Linked DNA regions of Homo sapiens: regions 1, 2, 3, 4 and 5 are each linked to region 6. Evidence: promoter capture Hi-C in human tissues and cell types (Jung and others, 2019). All regions are on one chromosome and are shown on one strand. Each heading gives the region's core, a stretch centred on a gene start or on the middle of the fragment in contact. The rest is flanking DNA. Distances are from core to core; before and after follow the strand shown. Region 1 holds the start of SPINK8 (serine peptidase inhibitor Kazal type 8 (putative)). Region 2 holds the start of FBXW12 (F-box and WD repeat domain containing 12). Region 3 overlaps MAP4 (microtubule associated protein 4). Region 4 overlaps MAP4 (microtubule associated protein 4). Region 5 has its middle 16 kb from the start of MAP4. Region 6 holds the start of CDC25A (cell division cycle 25A).

Region 1 (2,700 bases), core at 153-2,652, 150 kb before region 6:
CATTCCCCACCACCCTTGCCAGGGCCCCAAGTTTGTAAATAGCTAGGAAGATCGCTCTCCCATTGTGTAAGATGCTCTCCTCCCCTAATTTCTACCCAGTTTACTACCCCCTGCAATACAATCTCCAAGCCTTGGCTCCTTGGCCAGGCCCTTAGAACTGATAACCCAGTATTTTAACAACTGGAACTGAGTCTACAACAACATAATAGATCAGGATGAAAACGAATTTGAGTAAATTAAAGGGAGGCACATGTTCCTATAGTGGCAAACTGGGGCAACAAGTGAACGTCCTTCCACTGCGTTTCCAAAATCCATCTAAAAAAAGACAGACAGAGAGAGGAAGAGGCAGAAAGTCAAAGAGAGAAAGAAAGAAAAAAGGGAAAGAGAGAGGTAGTAAAGAAAAAACAGTGTACCCTATTCCTTTAAAAGCCAAGGTAAATTTAGAACCTATAATTGATAATTAAAGGTCTTCTCCACGACCCTATAATACTCCAATACTACCTTGTTGTCAGTGTAAACAAGGGCGTAGCCCGAAAACACTGAGACCACTGACAACCCATAGCCTTCCTATCAAAAATCCTGAACCCAGTAACCCGTGGATGGCCCAAATGCATTCAATCTGTAGTGGCAACTGCTTTGCTAACAGAATAAAGTAGAAAAATAACCTTTAGAGGAAACCTCATTGTGAGCACACCTCACCAGTTCAGAACAATCCTAAGACCAAAAAAAAAAAAAAAAAAAGGTAGCTTACTAGCTCAAAATTCTTAAAGTATGGGGCTATTCTGTTAGAAAAAGGTGATTTAACACCAACCACTGATAATTCCCTTAACCCAGCAGATTTCCTAACAGGGGATTTAAATCTTAATTGCCATGCAAAGGTCCAACCAGACCTAGGAGGAACTTCCTTTAGGATAGGACGATAGATGGTTCCTCCCAGGCGATTGAGGAAAAAACCACAATGGGTATTCAGTAATTGATAAGGAAACTCTTGTGGAAGCAGAGTTAGGAGAATTGCCTCATAATTGGTCTGCACAAACTGCGAGCTGTTTGCACTCAGCCAAGCCTTAAAGTACTTACAAAAAGAGCAAGCCCATCTTTTTCTCCTCGCTCTCCTTCTCGTAGGAAAAAGGCACATAGGATAAACAGGAGCCATCTCTCATATTTCGTACCCAAAAGGACTTAATCCAGGGCAACAAAATCTTAAGTTCGATAATTAAGGCATATTCCTACAAAGGAAAAGGACAAAGGCCCTAGTGGGCAAAAACTCTATCTCAATCCTGACTCAAAAGGTTACCTACACCCTCTCTGAAACGAATTTGCATAAGAACTGTTGTTTATGAAAATGCATCTTGATGGGGCAACTGGGTTGTTATGAAATACTCAGAAACCCAGCCCAGCTCTAGAACTCACTCCTGAGTGCAAAGGCAATGTCAGGCACGCTGGTAAAGGACCACTAGAATCCAGCAGCCCAGACCCCTTTCTTTGTGGTCAAGAAGGGCAGGAAAACAGGTGCAGGACTGCTACATCGGTGAGTGTAACTAATCTGATAAGCAGAGGTCCGTGGGTGGTTACGCACCCTGAAAAGGAATAAGCATTAGGACCACAGAGGACGCTCTAGGACTAATGCTCATCAGAAAATGACTAGGGGTGCTGGCATCCCTATGTTCTTTTTAAACGTTCCCCCCTCCCAGGCAAAAACGCCCCTAAGATGTATTCTAGAGAATTAGGACCAATTTGACCCTCAGATGCTAAGAAAGAAACGACTTATATTCTTCTGCAGTACCCCTGGCCACAATATCCTCTTCAAGAGGGAGAAACATGCCCTCCAAGGGAAGTATAAATTATAACACCATCTTACAGCTAGACTTCTTTTGTAGAAAATAGGGCAAATGGAGCGAAGTGCCATATGTGCAAACTTTCTTTTCATTAAGAGACAACTCACAATTATGTTAAAAGTGTGATTTATGCCCTACAGGAAGCCCTCAGAATCTACCCCCCTGCCCCGGCGTTCCCCCGGCTCCTTCCCCAACTAATAATGACCCCCCTTCAACACAAACGGTGCCAAAGGAGATAGAGAAAGGGGTAAACAATGAACCAAAGAGTGCCAATATTCCCAGATTATGCCCCCTTGAAGTGGTGGGAGGAGGAGAATTCAGCCCAGAGTGTGTGTACCTTTTTCCCTCTCAGACTTGAAGCAAATTAAAATAGACCTAGGTAAATTCTCAAATAACCCTGATGGCTATATTGATGTTTTACAAGGGTTAGGACAATCCTTTGATCTGACATGGAGAGACATAATGTTACTGCTAGATCAGATACTAACCCCAAATGAGAGAAGTGCCGCTATAACTGCAGCCCAAGAGTTTGGCAATCTCTGGTATCTCAGTCAGGTCAATGATAGGATGACAACAGAGGAAAGAGAACGATTCCCCACAGGCCAGCAGGCAGTTCCCAGTGTAGACCCTCAATGGGACGCAGAATCAGAATGTGGAGATTGGTGCCGCAGACATTTGCTAACTTGCATGCTAGAAGGACTAAGAAAAACTAGGAAGAAGCCTATGAATTATTCAATGATGCCCACTATAACACAGGGAAAGGAAGAAAATCCTACTGCCTTTCTGGAGAGACTAAGGGAGGCATTGAGGAAGCATACCTCTCTGTCATCTGGATCTATTGAAGGCCAACTAATCTTAAAGGGTA
Region 2 (2,884 bases), core at 1-2,500, 180 kb before region 6:
TACTCACACTAACTTTCCTGTGTATATCTCACAACACAGCCACACAGGCCTTGGGACACAGCATGGGTGCGCAGTCAGATGATCTCCTCTCCCCTTCCCTCCTTGCCCTTTCCCTTCCCTTACCTCCACAGGTAATCACTGTCTGCAATCCTATTCCAATGCTATGGGAGAGAAAGGAAGAGACAAGCAGGCAATCAGTTACATCAGAGAGCAAGGGTAATCCTCTGCTATTATTTGTTCTGGGAGCTGGGCCCGCACAGGTTAATCAGATGGGATTCCAGCTCTCAAAGCACTCTCAGTGTGGGGAGATAAGGAAATGGTAACAACAGAGACCTATCACTGCTAATACAGGCACTGGGTATTCCCATGAATTCACAGGAAGAAGTGTTGATTTCCTAGGGCTTGAAATGGGAGCCTCAAGGACTGTTTAGTCAGCACAACTCCTGGATATCAGCTTGTCCTTTTCGTTTAACAGAATATGAGGCCCTCAGTATGAAGAATGCTAACCCCCAAAGCCTCAGTGTAACCCTCTGCTATTCTGCAAAGTGGTGCTCAAACTGGTCGAGAGAAGCAGCGGGCTTGGGGGGCAGTGGGAGGTGGAAGGCCTTTACCTTGTTCACCTGGGAAACCTGCAGCAAGCCGAACAGGTCCAGGAAAGAGAAGATTCGCTTCAAAGCTAAGTCAGGCAATCGGATCTCCATTTCATGCGGCCTGAACCCACATCCACTTTCCTTTCTCCTCTCCGGGCTGCTCTGAATTTATAGGCTTTGCCAAAGTCTGCAGCACTTGTAAAGATTTTCACCCATGCCCATCTGTGTGCGGTAGAAACAAGCTGCAGGTGTGCAGACTCCCGGGCTGACCTCCACCCCGGCCTCTCCCCTGGGGCCTGATCCACACAGCTGGCAGGCATCCCTACCTAAACCCACTTGTTAGTGCTGTTCATTGTTTAGAGGAGCTCAGCAACACCTGTGCGCTGTGAGCTGGAGGTGCAGAACCTGGGGCAGCCCCAGTTGCAGATGAAGTTGTCAGAACCCTTTAGGAAATGTCACCGAGTGCACTCACTTTGATCAGATCTGAGTGTCTCTATGACTCTATTTAAGTTCCAAACTCCTGGAATTGGAGTCTGCTTGCCCTGTGTCTGTGCCTACCTTGGGATCTTGAATCTGGTGAGTGGGGCTCATCTCTCAGCGCCAGCATGGCCTCTGGGTTTCTACCTTCTCGCATTTAACTTTGCAGTGGAGGAGAAAGAACGTGCCAAGCTGGCTTCTCCACAGAGGTCCGCCCAAAGGGAGCAGGCCTTGTCTGGGATGGCTCTCCCAGCTGGTGGCTTTCCCTGGGATGTGACGCTTTCCCACAGTTACAGATCTCCCAAGAACCTGACAACTCATTCTGGGATTTTCTAAAGACCGTGTCATAGCCTGGGTGTTTGTGTCCTCTCAAAATTCCTACGTTGAAATTCTAACCCTTGGTGTGATTGGAGGTGGGGGGCCTTTGGGAGGTAAGTGGGTCACAGGCAGAGTCCTTATGATGGGACCAGTGACCTTATAAAAGAGACCCCAGAACGCTCTCTAGCCCTGTTCATATCATGCGAGGACATGAGAAGGTGTCAGCTGCAACCTGGAAGAAGGCCCACACCAGAACCTGACCGTGCTGACAGGTGACTCTTGGACTTCTCTCCTCCAAAATTGTGAGAAATAAATTTGTTTGTAAGCCACCCAGTCTATGGTACTTTGCTGCAGCATAAGACAGGGGTCCCTCTGTGAGGCTCAGTGGCCAACCCTTCTTAAAACTGCTGCCTCCAGGCAGACACACGGGAGTGGTTGTCGGGAGTCCCATTTATGATACAGTAGTAAGAGAGAGGAAAAATACAAATTGACATGGTGAGGAAATAAAAAGGAAAAGCAAAGACCAAGAAGCACCTAGAGGGGCGTGGGGAAAGGCGAGTCAAGGGGTGTGTGGAGAGGAGTGAGAAAAATACAAGGGTAAAAGATTTGTATTCCATAAATAGGAAATAATGCAGAGAGAGCCAGAGCCGTGGAAGGACACAGGAAGACAGAAAGCTTGGAACGGACTCTATTGTAGAGGAACAGAATTAATGCAAAGATATAGAAGGCTGAGAAATAAAACACTTTAAAATATGACAAGGGAAGAGAAGAAACAGTAAAATAAAGGATATTTTAAAAGTATTAAAGCACAAATATTATAAAATACACAGATAGGAAATATAACTGTAAGTGGACTGAGACAGAGTAGGAATAAAATGGAAAAGAGGACAGATGAGAAAGAGGCAAACATAAGGAAACTGAAGCAAATTGCCGAATGAGTGAATGAATGAATTTGAAATAGAGGAACAGAGGCCAGGCACAGTGGCTCATGCCCGTAATCCCAGCACTTGGGGAGGCCGAGGCGGGTGGATCACCAGGTCAGGAGTTTGAGACCAGCTTGGCCAACATAGTGAAACCCTGTCTCTACTAAAAATACAACAAATTAGCTGGGCGTGGTGGCGGGTGCCTGTAATCCCAGCTACTTGGGAGGCTGAGGCAGGAGAATTGCTTGAAGCTGGGAGGTGGAGGTTGCAGTGAGCTGAGATTGCGCTACTGCACTCCAGCCTGGGCGACAGTGCGAGACTCCATCTCAACAACAACAACAAAAAAAATAGAGGAACAGGAAGGTGTGTTGGGGGGTGGTGGTGGCGGGGTGCTACCAGAAAAGCGGCAGAGAAAGACACATTGCAACAATAGATGAAGACAAATCTAAATGTCACAAGAGTTAAGAGATGTAAAATTTGAGAGATGTGAAATGGTAACTGCGTAATAGTCTAAGCAAAAGATAAGATGCAGGTGAGAGAATGGTCCGGACATTGTCTAGGAGAAAGTAGATTAAA
Region 3 (3,013 bases), core at 422-2,921, 250 kb after region 6:
TGAAAAAAACAACAACAACAAAAAACAGACTTTCATGCTCCTTCTCCAGGAGGGGTGAGGAAAATGTACCCATTTCTCTGATTAAAAACTTATTTTTTGATCAAGAGGTGGTTGTTTAAAAAAAAAAAAAAAACTATTTCTTTACAGTTTCTTACCATGAGTAAGAAATATAAGCAGAATCAGAGTTTTTAATGTCTATCTTAGAAATGATAGGCTATTGTTTAAATTATTTTGGAATTCCTTATGCTTTTTTAAAAAAAAACATTATGTCACCAACCTTATGCTCTTTATAATAAATGCAAATCACTTTCCAAGAAGTTTGGTGTATAATGTGAATTTAACTTACATCATTTAGCCCAAATAATGATCTTGTGATAATTTGATAGCAACTTATTTATTGAATACTATTCTGTCTCATGCAGTTAGCTAGGCATTGTGAGGAAATAAAAGTAGTAAAAGCACAGTATTTTCTTTTTAAACATTAATGAGTTCACTTACTAACATGTAAAATAATGAAAATTTTAATGATAAATAGAATACTTAAAGGCTTTTTAATTTTTTAAAAAAAGACTAACAGGAAAACATGTGCTTAAGGACTAAATTCTTTCCTAGTAACAGTGAATGGTAAAAGAGCTAAGTAGTGGAAAATGAGCATTAAAGTCATCAGAGAGGTTCTGTGGAAGCTATGAGGCCCAAGTGGTGGCTTTGGAATTGGATCAGGGAGGAGACATTTCAAGCAGGGGATCAGTGATCTCATGAGCAAAGGCACAGGGGCAGAGTGGAGCACAGGCTCTAGCAGGAGCCATGAGGGGACAGCATACTTACTGCATGACTTTCCTGTTGGAGTAGTAGGGAACAAGCCTGGGATGGGTTCATTTGATGGGTAAGGAAGGCTTTAGATTAGCATCTAACATTTGCCGTAATAATGTTTTGTGTTGTTGAAGCCCTAAACACATCGTCTTTATAAGCTTTGAAATAGATGGATAGGTGCACCTTCTCTAAATAGGATGTGACTTGAAGAATGTTTTTTACTTAACCATAATTTTAGAACTGAACAAGTATCCTTAGAGGTCATTACTGTGACTAAGAGAGATGAAAGGGCTGTCCCAAATTTACATGGTTAGCCTGTGGCAAAGCCAGGGTTAAGAACTCAAATATGGGCCTGGTATAGAGGCTCATGCATGTAATCCTAGCACTTTGGGAGGTCAAATCCGGAGGATTGCTTGAGCCCAGTTGTTCAACGCCAGCCTGGGCAATGTATGGAGACCCTGTCTCTACCCCCAAAATAATAACAATAATAAATTAGAAGGGCATAGTGGCACACATCTGTGTCCTTAGCTACTGGAGAAGCTGAGAGGGGAGGATTGCTTGAGCCCAGGAAGTTGAGGCCGCAGTGAGCTGTGATTGCGCCACTATACCTGGGAGACAGTCAGACCTTGTCTCAATTAACAATTCCCTTTTTTCTTTTTTTCCTTTGAGACAGAATCTCGCTCTGTCGCCCAGGCTGGGTGCAGTGGCACAGTCTCGGTTCACTGCAACCTCCACCTCCCAGGTTCAAACAATTCTCCTGTCTCAGCCTCCCGAGTAGGATTACAGGTGTGCGCCACCATGCGTGGCTAATTTTTGTATTTTTAGTAGAGACAGCGTTTCATCATGTTGGCCAGGCTGGTCTCTAACTCCTGACCTCAAGTGATCTGCCTGCCTCTGCCTTCCCAAAGTGCTGGGATTACAGGCATGAGCCACCACACCCAGCAGAGATCTTGTCTCAATAAAATAAAAGTAAGAACTCAAATATGTCTGCTGGTGCCCAGCTGTTCTCTCCCTCCTTTCCCTCTATAGATTTTTTAGAATATTTAATAATAATAATAAAAGAAGAAAAATGGCTGGGTGCAGTGGTTCATGCCTGTAATCCCAGCACTTTGGGAGACTGAGGCGGGCGGATCACCTGAGGTCAGGAGTTCGAGACCATCCTGGCCAACATGGTGAAACCTCGTCTCTACTAAAAATACAAAAATTAGCCGGGCATGGTGGCAGGCGCCTGTAATCCCAGCTACTCAGGAGGCTGAGGCAGGAGAATCGCTTGAACCCGGGAGGCAGAGGTTGCAGTGAGCTGAGATTGTGCTATCGCGCTCCAGCCTGGGGGACAAGAGTGAGACTTCGTCTCAAAAAAAAAAAAAAAAAAAAAAGAAGAAGAAAAAGGAAAAGCTGTTCTTGAAGGTAGCCAAAGGTTCTGAGATTGATTCCTACCTTCAACCTGAGAACATCAGAAACATCTTTCTCCTATAATTTTCTGATTAATTTCACTGCAGTAATCCAGAATGGGGTTGTTTTATTACATTTGTGTTTTGTGATTCAAGAACTAAGACAAATATATTAATCCTATGAAAAAACATATTGCTTTTAATATTTTTACTAATTTAAAAAGGCGTTTATCCAAGTTTCATCACCTTTTCTTCCCCTCTGCTCAGTGTATATGCCACTTGTGAACCTTCCCGAGGATGCTGTGGTTTGTTCTTTAATTCATCGTCATTTTTCTGGCTTAGACAAGTAATGAGTACTTTCATCTACTTAAATGACCAAGTATTTCATCTGTCTAATAACTGCTGAGTCTTATTTGTAAGTTATGTTTTACCAGATTTTTGAGAATTATAAAGATGAATGGATAAGTCAAAAGTCTCAGAATTAATTTTAAAATTAAAATGGGCTTCAGAAATTATGTAGCACAATTTTTTTTTTTAATTCTGGATGAGTAGTGTAGCTCTAACAGTCTTAAGGTCACACCCAAAGTTAAGTGGCAGAGTCAAGATTAGAACCTGGGTCTCCTGATTCTGTTTTCTTTCTTTTCTTTTTTTTTTTTTTTTTGAGACGGAGTTTCGCTCTTGTCACCCAAGCCGGAGTGCAGTGGCGCGATCTTGGCTCACTGCAACCTCCACCTCCCGGGTTCAAGCAGTTCTCTTGCCTCAGCCTCCCGAGTAGCTGGGATTACAGGAGCCCGCTACCATGCCTGGCTAAT
Region 4 (2,878 bases), core at 69-2,568, 210 kb after region 6:
AAGACTGCATCTCTACAAAGAAAAAAAAAATAAAAAATTAACTGGGTGTGGTGGTAGTCTTAACTACTCAGGAGGCTGAGGCAGGAGGAAAGGCAGGGAGAAAGTAAACAGATATGTGCAAATGAGACTTCCATTATGCATATTATTCGCAATTAAATCTCATTATTTATGCCCTTCACTGGAAAAAAAAATTACCTTTAATTGCACAGATCATTTATAAAAAGACTGTTGGAGTTATGCTCCAAAGCCCACAATGACAGAGATAGTGTGTCAGAGGGACACAGGAGTCAACTGAAAGAGTTCCCAATAGCCAACACTGGAAAAATTTGAGCAACAAAATAAATAAAGTAGCATTGAATTAAAGCTCAGTGGACGAGGCTGATCATGGTGGCTCACGCCTGTAGTCCCAGCTACTTGGGAGACTGAGGCAGGAGTACCACTTGAGCCCAGGAGTTTGAGACCAGCCTGAGCAACTTAGTGAGACCCTGTCTTTATACAAATAGAATTGTCTGGGCGTGGTGGCTCACTCCTGTAATCCCAGCACTTTGGGAGGCCGAAGCAGGTGGATCACCTGAGGTCAGGAGTTAGAGACCAGCCTGGCCAACACGGTGAAATCCTGTTTCTACTAAAAATACAAAAAATTAGCCGGGCATGGTGGCACATGCCTGTAGCCCCAGCTACTCAGGAGGCTGAGGCATGAGAATCGCTTGAACCTGGGAGGCAGAGGTTGCAGTGAGCTGAGATTGTGCCACTGCACTCCAGCCTGGGTGACAGAGGGAGACTCAGTCTCAAATTAAATAAATAAATAAATAAATAAATAAGCCAACTGTGGCGGTGCACACCTGTTGTCACCATATACTTGGGAGGCTGAGGGAGGAGGATCATTTGAACCCAGCATTTTGAGGTTACAGTGAGGTGTGATTATACCACTGCATTCCAGCCTGGGCAACAGAGCAAAACCCTCTCTCTTAAAAATTAAGTCAAAATCTTTGCCGGGTGCCATGGCTCATGCCTGTAATTCTATCACTTTGGGAGGCTGAGGCAGGCAGATCACTTGAGGTCGGGAGTTTGACATCAGCCTGGCCAATATGGTGAAAACCTGTCTCTAATGAAGATAAAAAAATTAGCTGAGAGTGGTGGCGCACGCCTGTAGTCCCAGCTACCAGCTACTTGGGATGTTGAGACAGGAGAATTGCTTGAACCCGGGAGACAGAGGTTGCAGTGAGCCAAGATTGCGCCACTGCACTCCAGTCTTGGCGATAGAGCTAGACTCTGTCTCAAACAAAAAACAAAGAAAACTCCCTTCATTTTCATGTAATCTTATTTATTTCCTCAAGAAGGGTAGATCTTTTAAGACTTTATTCTTTGCAGTTACAAACATACAATAAAAAATTTAGTGGCTTTACTTTCATTTGATTCCATTTTACAAATGGAATCAAATCGTATGAATTTTAACTTGCTTTTTTTAGTTTATTATCTTAGAAAACTTTCTGTCAGTATATATCAAGCTTTCTTTTTAACTTGGTCTAAAGTAGTGGTCTTAACTTTTGGTCACATACTCAGAATTCTGATAAATTCTGTCTCTTTGTACATTAAGTTTACATCTAAAATTTTGTAGCAAAAGTTTAGTTGTAAAACATGTAATTTTGAGAATGTTTTACTTTTGCCACATAAAAATAAGTTACCTCATTCTGCTAAATGTATCCAAATGCTTCTAAATATATAGCATTTTGGTTTCCATCATCTAGTTTAAAAATATACGAACAAGCTGTTCTTTATCATTGGAAATTTAAATTCTTCTTTTGAGTCCTTGAACTTTTATTTCCATAACATGTCTCAGACTTTTATCCTAATGTAATATATTTTTATGCTTAAAAGTTTTTTCTTGATTGTGCTAATATGTTTCTGCTACTAAATATGTATGTAAACTTAAATTTTAATTTTTAAAGTTCCTGTGACAAAGGTTCTGTGTTTTAACTTGGTCCAGAGGAAATTTATCAGTCTATTGCATGTATTATGTTTTTTTTAAATCTCCCTTCATTTTCACTTAATCCTATTTGTTTCCTCAAGAAGAGTAGAGATGGGCTTTACTGTGTTGACCAGGCTGGTCTCGAATTCCTGGCCTCAAGTGATCTGCTCACCTTGGCTTCCCAAATTGCTGGGATTACAGGCATGAGCCACTGTGCCCGGCCAACATAGGTTGTAATTTTTGATGTTATTACTATACAAGTTGAATTTTATTGGAAATGCTTTTCTTATGAGATGATGGGGTCTGTTATTTTTCTCAATTAAATCATGGGTCTGTGGATCAATATTTCTTTCTCTGATGAAATAGGATTGGCAATTTTTCCTGTTTTTGTAGCTATCATAGTGAAGAAACCCTAATCACATAGGTAAATATATGGGAATAAAGCTTTTTTTTTTTTTTGGGAGATGGAGTCTTGCTCTGTCGCCCAGACTGGAGTGCAGTGGCACGATCTCAGCTCACTGCAACCTCTGCCTCCCAGGTTCAAGCTATTCTTGTGCTTCAGCCTCTAGAGTAGTTGTGATTCACACGCCACTATGCCTGGCTAATTTTTTGTATTTTAGTAGATATGGGGTTTCACCGCATTGGCCAGGCAGGTCTCGAACTCCTGACCTCAAGTGATCCACCTGCCTCAGCCTCCCAAAGTGCTGGGATTATAGGCTTGAGCCACTGCACCTGGCCAGGTTCTTTTTTATTATTATTATTTTTTATTACGAGATAAGGACTATAGGCGTGTGCCACCACACCCAGCTAATTTATTTATTTATTTATTTATTTTTAGAGATGGGGTCACACTATGTTGCCCAGGCTGGTCTCAAATTCCTGGACTCAAGACACCCCTCTGCCTTAGCC
Region 5 (3,118 bases), core at 155-2,654, 160 kb after region 6:
ATCCTACCACTGCACTCAAGCCTGGGTGACAGAGCGAGACTCCCGTTTCAAAAAAATTAAAAATAAAAATAAAAAAATTCTTAAGGACAGTTTGAAACTGGAGAGAAATCATAATGTACTTTAAAATGGTTAATTGTATGTTATGTAAACTTCACTTCAATTAAAAAAATTAAGGACAGCTGGAAAGAAAACTAATATACTTTTCTGTTTGTACAAAATAAAATGGTAGATTTAAGAAGCTTTAACCAGGGCTTCAACTTTCACATCATAGATACTAACTGTAGAAGCATAGTGCGATAACTGATAGTTAAATAGAAGATAAAAATCCACATGAGGAGGGCATGCCATTTTAAAAAGGAGAGCTATGTGATGCTATTTCCAATACATAGATATAGCTGGACTTACCTTCTTTATCCCTGAGAAACGAAAGCATTCTAAGTTAGCAGAGGAAATGATGATCAGAATGATAATACCTCCTACCTTTTCCCCTTGCTTCCTGATTTGGGATATAGGACAGAAAAGAAATTCTACTTTTAGTTGAGAACTCAGGGATGACTTTGAACAAATATATTTGTTAATCTCCTTGGACTTTTCTCACTTTTAAAATAAGGAGGTTGGATTCAAATGCCCTTTCTAAAGTTTTGTGATTTGGTTGGAAATATTAGATGTGCACATCACCAAGTTACTTTGTTTTGTTTCTGTGTACATGAATAAGCTTTTATTAGACTTGGTCACTGTTGTCTCTCTGTGATCAACAAGGGTAAGTTAGCTTCTAAGAGTACCAGTGGTAGAACTTTAAGATTTGAAGCTTTAACGAGAGTCAGCTAGTTTGCAGTGATTAGAGACTTGTAAGTTAATTGATATACACACTTTTGTCTATATTTATTAAGTTTCTCAGGGGAATTGTAGATTATTTCAGAGTGCAGTTTTAGGTCGTGGATCAGATTTAAGTTGGAAGTAAATAATGGTTATTACTAGAATTTTTTGTTTTTGTTTGTTTTTGAGAAGGAGTCTTTCTCTGTCACCCAGGCTGGAGTGCAGTGCCACAATCTCAGCTCACTGCAACCTCTGTCTCCTGGGTTCAAGCGATTCTCCTGCCTCAGCCTCCTGAGTAGCTGGGATTACAGGTGCCTGCCACCACACCTGGCTAATTTTTTTTTTTTTGAGACGGAGTCTTGCTCTCTTGCCCAGGCTGGAGTGTAGTGGTGCGATCTTGGGCTAACTGCAACCTCCGCCTCCGAGATTCAAGTAATTCTCCTGCCTGAGTCTCCCTAGTAGCTGGGATTACAGGCGCACACCACCATGCCCATCTAATTTTTTTATTATTTTTTTTTAGTAGAAATGCAGTTTCACCATGTTGGCCAGGCCGCTCGCGAACTCCTGACCTCAATTTTCATACATTATTATTAACTAAAGTTCATAGTTTATTTAGATTTCCTTAATTTTTACCTAAATACCTTTTTCTGTTCTAGGATCTCATCTAGGATACCACATTATGTTTAGTTATCATACTTAGCTTTCTCTTGGCTATGACAGTTTCTTACACCTCCCTTGTTTTTGATGACTTTGACAGTTTTGAGGAGTACTGGTCTGATATTTTGTAGAGTGTCCTTCAGTTGGGAGTTGTCTGATCTTTTTCTCATGATTAGACAGAGGTTATGCTTTTTAGAAGGAAGATCACAGAGGTAAAGTGCCACTCTTATCACATTATATCAAGGGTGCATACTATCAAATCATGTCAGCATGATTTATGTCTGTGTGTGTGTGTGTGTGTATGTGTGTGTGTATGTGTGTGTTTTGCTTTATCACTCAAGCTGGAGTACAGTGCTGTGATCACAGTTCACTGGAACCTCCTGGACTCGACTCAAGCTTCCTCTCAACTCAGCTTCCCAAATAGCTGGGACCATAGGCACATGCCACCAAGCCCAGCTAATTTTTTTTTGAGAAAGAGTCTTGCTCTGTTGCCCAGGCTGGGTTGCAGTGGCACGATCGTGGCTTACCGCAACCCTGGCCTCCAGGGCCCAAGTGATCCTCCCACCTCAGCCTCCCGGGTAGTTGGGACTACAGGCACGTACCACCATGCCTGGCTAATTTTTTTGTTTTTTTGTTTTTTTTTGAGATGGAGTCTTGCTCTGTCGCCCAGGCTGGAGTGCAGTGGCGCGACCTTGGCTCACTGTAACTTCCGTCTCCTGGGTTCAAGTGATTCTCCTGCCTCGGCCTCCCAAGTAGGTGGGACTACAGGCATGTGCCACCACACCCAGCTAACTTTTTGTATTTTTAGTAGAGACAGGGTTTCACCATGTTAGCCAGGATGATCTCAATCTCCTGACCTTGAGATCCCCCTACTTTGGCTTCCCAAAGTGCTGGGATTACAGGTGTGAGCCACCGCACCCAGCCTAATTTTTGTATTTTTCATAGAGATGGGGTTTCGCCATGTTGCTTGCCTAAGTTGGTGTCAGAACTCCTGGCCTCAAGTGAACCTCCTGCCTTGGCCTGCCAAAGTGCTGGGATTACAGATGTAAGCCATTGCACCCAGCTGATTTATCACTATTGATATTAGTCTTGATCACTTGGCTTAGGTAGTATTTGTCATATTTCTCTTACCCCCCCCTCCCATTTTCATATTGTACTCTTTAGAAGGAGGTCACTATGTGCTATGCACATGTAAAGGATGAAGGGTTATGTTCTACCTCTTGGAAGTGGAGTATCTTGTTTGGAATTCTTCACTGAAGACTTGCTTATTCTCTCTCATTTATTTATTCAGTCTATTGTTTATATTGTTCCAGCTTTGGTCATTGGGAACTTTTTTAGTTGACTCCTGTGTAATTGAGTTACCCCTATCTTTTTTTTTTTTTTTTTTTTTTTTTTGAGATGGAGTCTTACTCTGTCGCCCAGGCTGGAGTGCAGTGGTACAATCTCGGCTCAGTGCTACCTACACTTCCTGGGTTCAAGCAATTCTCCTGTCTCAGCCTCCCGAGTAGCTGGGATTACAGGCACCCACCATCATGCCTGGTTAATATTTGGGTTTTTTATAGAGACGGGTTTTAATCATGTTGGTCAGGCTGGTCTTGAACTCCTGACTTCAGGTGATCTGCCTGCCTTGGCCTCCCAAAGTGCT
Region 6 (3,006 bases), core at 367-2,866:
GAGTTCAGCCATTCTTCTGCCTCAGCCTCCCGAGTAGCTGGGACTACAGGCGCCCGCCACCACGCCCGGTAATTTTTTGTATTTTTAGTAGAGCCGGGGTTTCACCATGTTAGCCAGGATGGTCTCGATCTCCTGACCCCGTGATCCGCCCGCCTCGGTCTCCCAAAGTGCTGGGATTACAGGCGTGAGCCACCGCTCCCGGCCTGTTGAGCCAAGTATTAAACCACATAAAACACAGGAGGAGAGGAAAGTATTCAGAGATACGACAGGGAGAACTATTTGAAACAGTGGGACCACAGACCATGTGAACTGTGCAGAGAGGCCTAAATAGCCTGGGGTTTCTGGAGGGAAGGGAGGTTCCTGGGTGGTGGAGCACTGGTGCACAGAAAAGGAGATGAATCCTGAGAGAGAGGTTCCTCACTGTGAAGGGTCTGGTGTTGGGGCCAAAGGTTTGGGGTTTCCACCTGTCCAGCATGGCTTTTCAAACTGTAGGGTTTTTTTTTTTTGAGTGGGGGGCAGGGGGTGTCTCACTTTGTTGCCCAGGCTGGTCTCAAATTCGTGGGCTCAGGCAATCCTCCCACCTCGCCCTCCCAAAGTGCTGGGATGATAGGCGTGAGCCACTAAGCCCAGCAGTAGGTTGCAATTAAATCATGCACTTATGGCCCTCAAAATCCGTCTAGGAGCTGCCACAGGTTCGGCGCTGTAAAAGTAAATATGCCCACTTAGAAAATGGGGATAATTCCTATGTCACAGAGTTGTAAAGATTAAATGAATTAATACAGATTAACACACTGGGAACAGTGTCAAGTGCATAAGCATTATGTAAACTTTAGCTATTATTTGCTATTATTGTGTTTGCTGTTATTTCTCTCTAGGAGCTCCCAGGGGGCTAAGAAGTGGTGGGAAAGAAAGAAATGATTCTAAGAGCATCCAATAAGGGCTAGAATGGAAGTGAGCAAAAAATGCTGAGGCCCACAGCACAGGTTGTACTGCGGGGTTCAAATCCCATGAGGCCAGCAGCACCCAGGGTCTGTGAGCCCTCCAGAGTTGGGCCCTGGTGGTCGAGTCCAGTCCTGGGGGTCATTGCATTCCCTCCCTCATTATAAAATGGGGCCTGGAGGCCCGGGGCGGAAGAAAGGGGTCCACAATACTGCACGGTTAGAGGCCGAGCCAAGGCTGGATCCGGCCAGACCTCCACAGGTCTTCCTTAGCCTCCACATTGCCTCAGAGTGTGGGGCGCCCGGCTGGGGGCGAGGTAGCGGAGGCCCAAAGGGGGCCGAAGCTAACTGGACGGCAGCTCGCGATGGGAACTACGCTTCCCAGCATGCGACGGGGCAAAGGGGCCTTTCAGCCGCGAGCAGCGCCTCGCAGGTTCTGCTGGGAGTTTTCATTGACCTCTGCTCCCCCTCTCATTTTGATCCCCGCTCTTCTGCTCTGGGCTCCGCCCCCTTCTGAGAGCCGATGACCTGGCAGAGTCCCGCGAGCCGCTTTCTTCTTCCCCTCTCATTGGCCCAGCCTAGCTGCCATTCGGTTGAGAGGAGGAGAAGTTGCTTACTGATTGGTGGATTCCGTTTGGCGCCAACTAGGAAAGGGGGGCGGGGCAGCAGCTGGCCCCACTGAGCCGCTATTACCGCGAAAGGCCGGCCTGGCTGCGACAGCCTGGGTAAGAGGTGTAGGTCGGCTTGGTTTTCTGCTACCCGGAGCTGGGCAAGCGGGTGGGAGAACAGCGAAGACAGCGTGAGCCTGGGCCGTTGCCTCGAGGCTCTCGCCCGGCTTCTCTTGCCGACCCGCCACGTTTGTTTGGATTTAATCTTCAGGTTGCCGGCGCCCGCCCGCCCGCTGGCCTCGCGGTGTGAGAGGGAAGCACCCGTGCCTGTGGCTGGTGGCTGGCGCCTGGAGGGTCCGCACACCCGCCCGGCCGCGCCGCTTGCCCGCGGCAGCCGCGTCCCTGAACCGCGGAGTCGTGTTTGTGTTTGACCCGCGGGCGCCGGTGGCGCGCGGCCGAGGCCGGTGTCGGCGGGGCGGGGCGGTCGCGGCGGAGGCAGAGGAAGAGGGAGCGGGAGCTCTGCGAGGCCGGGCGCCGCCATGGAACTGGGCCCGGAGCCCCCGCACCGCCGCCGCCTGCTCTTCGCCTGCAGCCCCCCTCCCGCGTCGCAGCCCGTCGTGAAGGCGCTATTTGGCGCTTCAGCCGCCGGGGGACTGTCGCCTGTCACCAACCTGACCGTCACTATGGACCAGCTGCAGGGTCTGGGCAGGTAAGGAGAGACCGGCGGGCGGTGCTCCGGGCCCCTGGCCTCGGTGTCGGCCTCGGAGAGATCAGGCCAGGAAACGGACCGGGAGAAGGGCGAGACCCGTCCGTCCGGGTTCGCCGCTCGGGGACAGCCGGGCTAGGGCCTGCCATGTGCACCCCCGCCCGGGCGGAATGTTGGGCGGGAGAGGCCGTCGGGACCTTCCAGGGGAAGAGGTGGAGATCCTTGGGCCTAAGCCCGAGCCAGGCCCACCTTCACCCCTTTCGGATTGCTCCGTACTCTCCTTCTATCTCTATCCCTGGAAGCTCTTTGGAATCTACCCCCGCGGGGAAAATCAGGCTCTTCTAGGCACTCACTTTCACCCTTTGCTAAACCATCCTCAGGATCTTCGTTTGCTGTGATCTTTGTTCCTTCTCAACAAAGGACCATGGCATTTTCTTTCCTGGCGTTTATGTAAAATCATCTCAGTCCCTCGCCCTGTGCACATTCCTGATGTCCACTCTGCTGCTTTCCTAAGGCCAGGTCTTTTTACCCAACTTTCAGAAAGCTTCCTGGGCTTTTCCTGATAGCAAAAAATGCATCCCACGGTGTTTCCCGCGGAAGAGCTACTTTCCCTTCAATCTCTGGCATCCCGTTTGCTAAGCACATGTCTTGTGCGTTTCCCAACTTCTGAAAAGCAGAAAGTGTCCTGTTCAACTTTCATCCCGACTCTGTCTCAGTACTTAGAACACATGCTTTTATTTTAGGAAATACCCCA

The links. Contacts are between HindIII fragments. The study calls those that stand out against the background at their distance.
Region 1: a contact is called between the fragment with the promoter of SPINK8 here and the fragment with the promoter of CDC25A in region 6, in 1 of the 25 tissues and cell types used here (IMR-90 fibroblasts).
Region 2: the fragment with the promoter of FBXW12 here is called in contact with the fragment with the promoter of CDC25A in region 6 in 5 of the 25 tissues and cell types used here (IMR-90 fibroblasts, bladder, heart left ventricle and 2 more).
Region 3: a fragment that was not itself captured here is called in contact with the fragment with the promoter of CDC25A in region 6 in 2 of the 25 tissues and cell types used here (aorta and mesendoderm cells).
Region 4: a fragment that was not itself captured here is called in contact with the fragment with the promoter of CDC25A in region 6 in 1 of the 25 tissues and cell types used here (pancreas).
Region 5: a fragment that was not itself captured here is called in contact with the fragment with the promoter of CDC25A in region 6 in 5 of the 25 tissues and cell types used here (adrenal gland, aorta, bladder and 2 more).

Annotation. Positions count from the first base shown.
Region 1 is chr3:48,332,363-48,335,062 of GRCh38, reverse strand. SPINK8 (serine peptidase inhibitor Kazal type 8 (putative)) reads left to right here and starts at 1,402. Exons shown (of 8, transcript NM_001080525.3): 1 at 1,402-1,528; 2 at 2,592-2,697. RefSeq lists a silencer at 857-1,057. The HindIII fragment of the contact is 10,965 bases long and covers 1-2,700 here.
Region 2 is chr3:48,370,585-48,373,468 of GRCh38, reverse strand. FBXW12 (F-box and WD repeat domain containing 12) reads right to left here and starts at 1,250. Exons shown (of 11, transcript NM_207102.2): 1 at 1,149-1,250; 2 at 612-785; 3 at 124-161. The coding sequence starts at 701. The HindIII fragment of the contact is 16,322 bases long and covers 1-2,884 here.
Region 3 is chr3:47,936,830-47,939,842 of GRCh38, reverse strand. All of the region lies in intron 3 of MAP4 (microtubule associated protein 4), which reads left to right. Among named protein-coding and RNA genes, the nearest start is that of MAP4, 78 kb to the left of the region's middle. RefSeq lists a silencer at 698-898. The HindIII fragment of the contact is 4,708 bases long and covers 1-3,013 here.
Region 4 is chr3:47,981,317-47,984,194 of GRCh38, reverse strand. All of the region lies in intron 2 of MAP4 (microtubule associated protein 4), which reads left to right. Among named protein-coding and RNA genes, the nearest start is that of MAP4, 34 kb to the left of the region's middle. The HindIII fragment of the contact is 4,461 bases long and covers 1-2,878 here.
Region 5 is chr3:48,030,549-48,033,666 of GRCh38, reverse strand. It overlaps a transcript of MAP4 not described here. Among named protein-coding and RNA genes, the nearest start is that of MAP4, 16 kb to the right of the region's middle. The HindIII fragment of the contact is 3,193 bases long and covers 1-3,000 here.
Region 6 is chr3:48,187,027-48,190,032 of GRCh38, reverse strand. CDC25A (cell division cycle 25A) reads left to right here and starts at 1,616. Exons shown (of 15, transcript NM_001789.3): 1 at 1,616-2,255. The coding sequence starts at 2,086. RefSeq lists a silencer at 1,950-2,159 and an enhancer at 1,903-2,531. The HindIII fragment of the contact is 16,525 bases long and covers 1-3,006 here.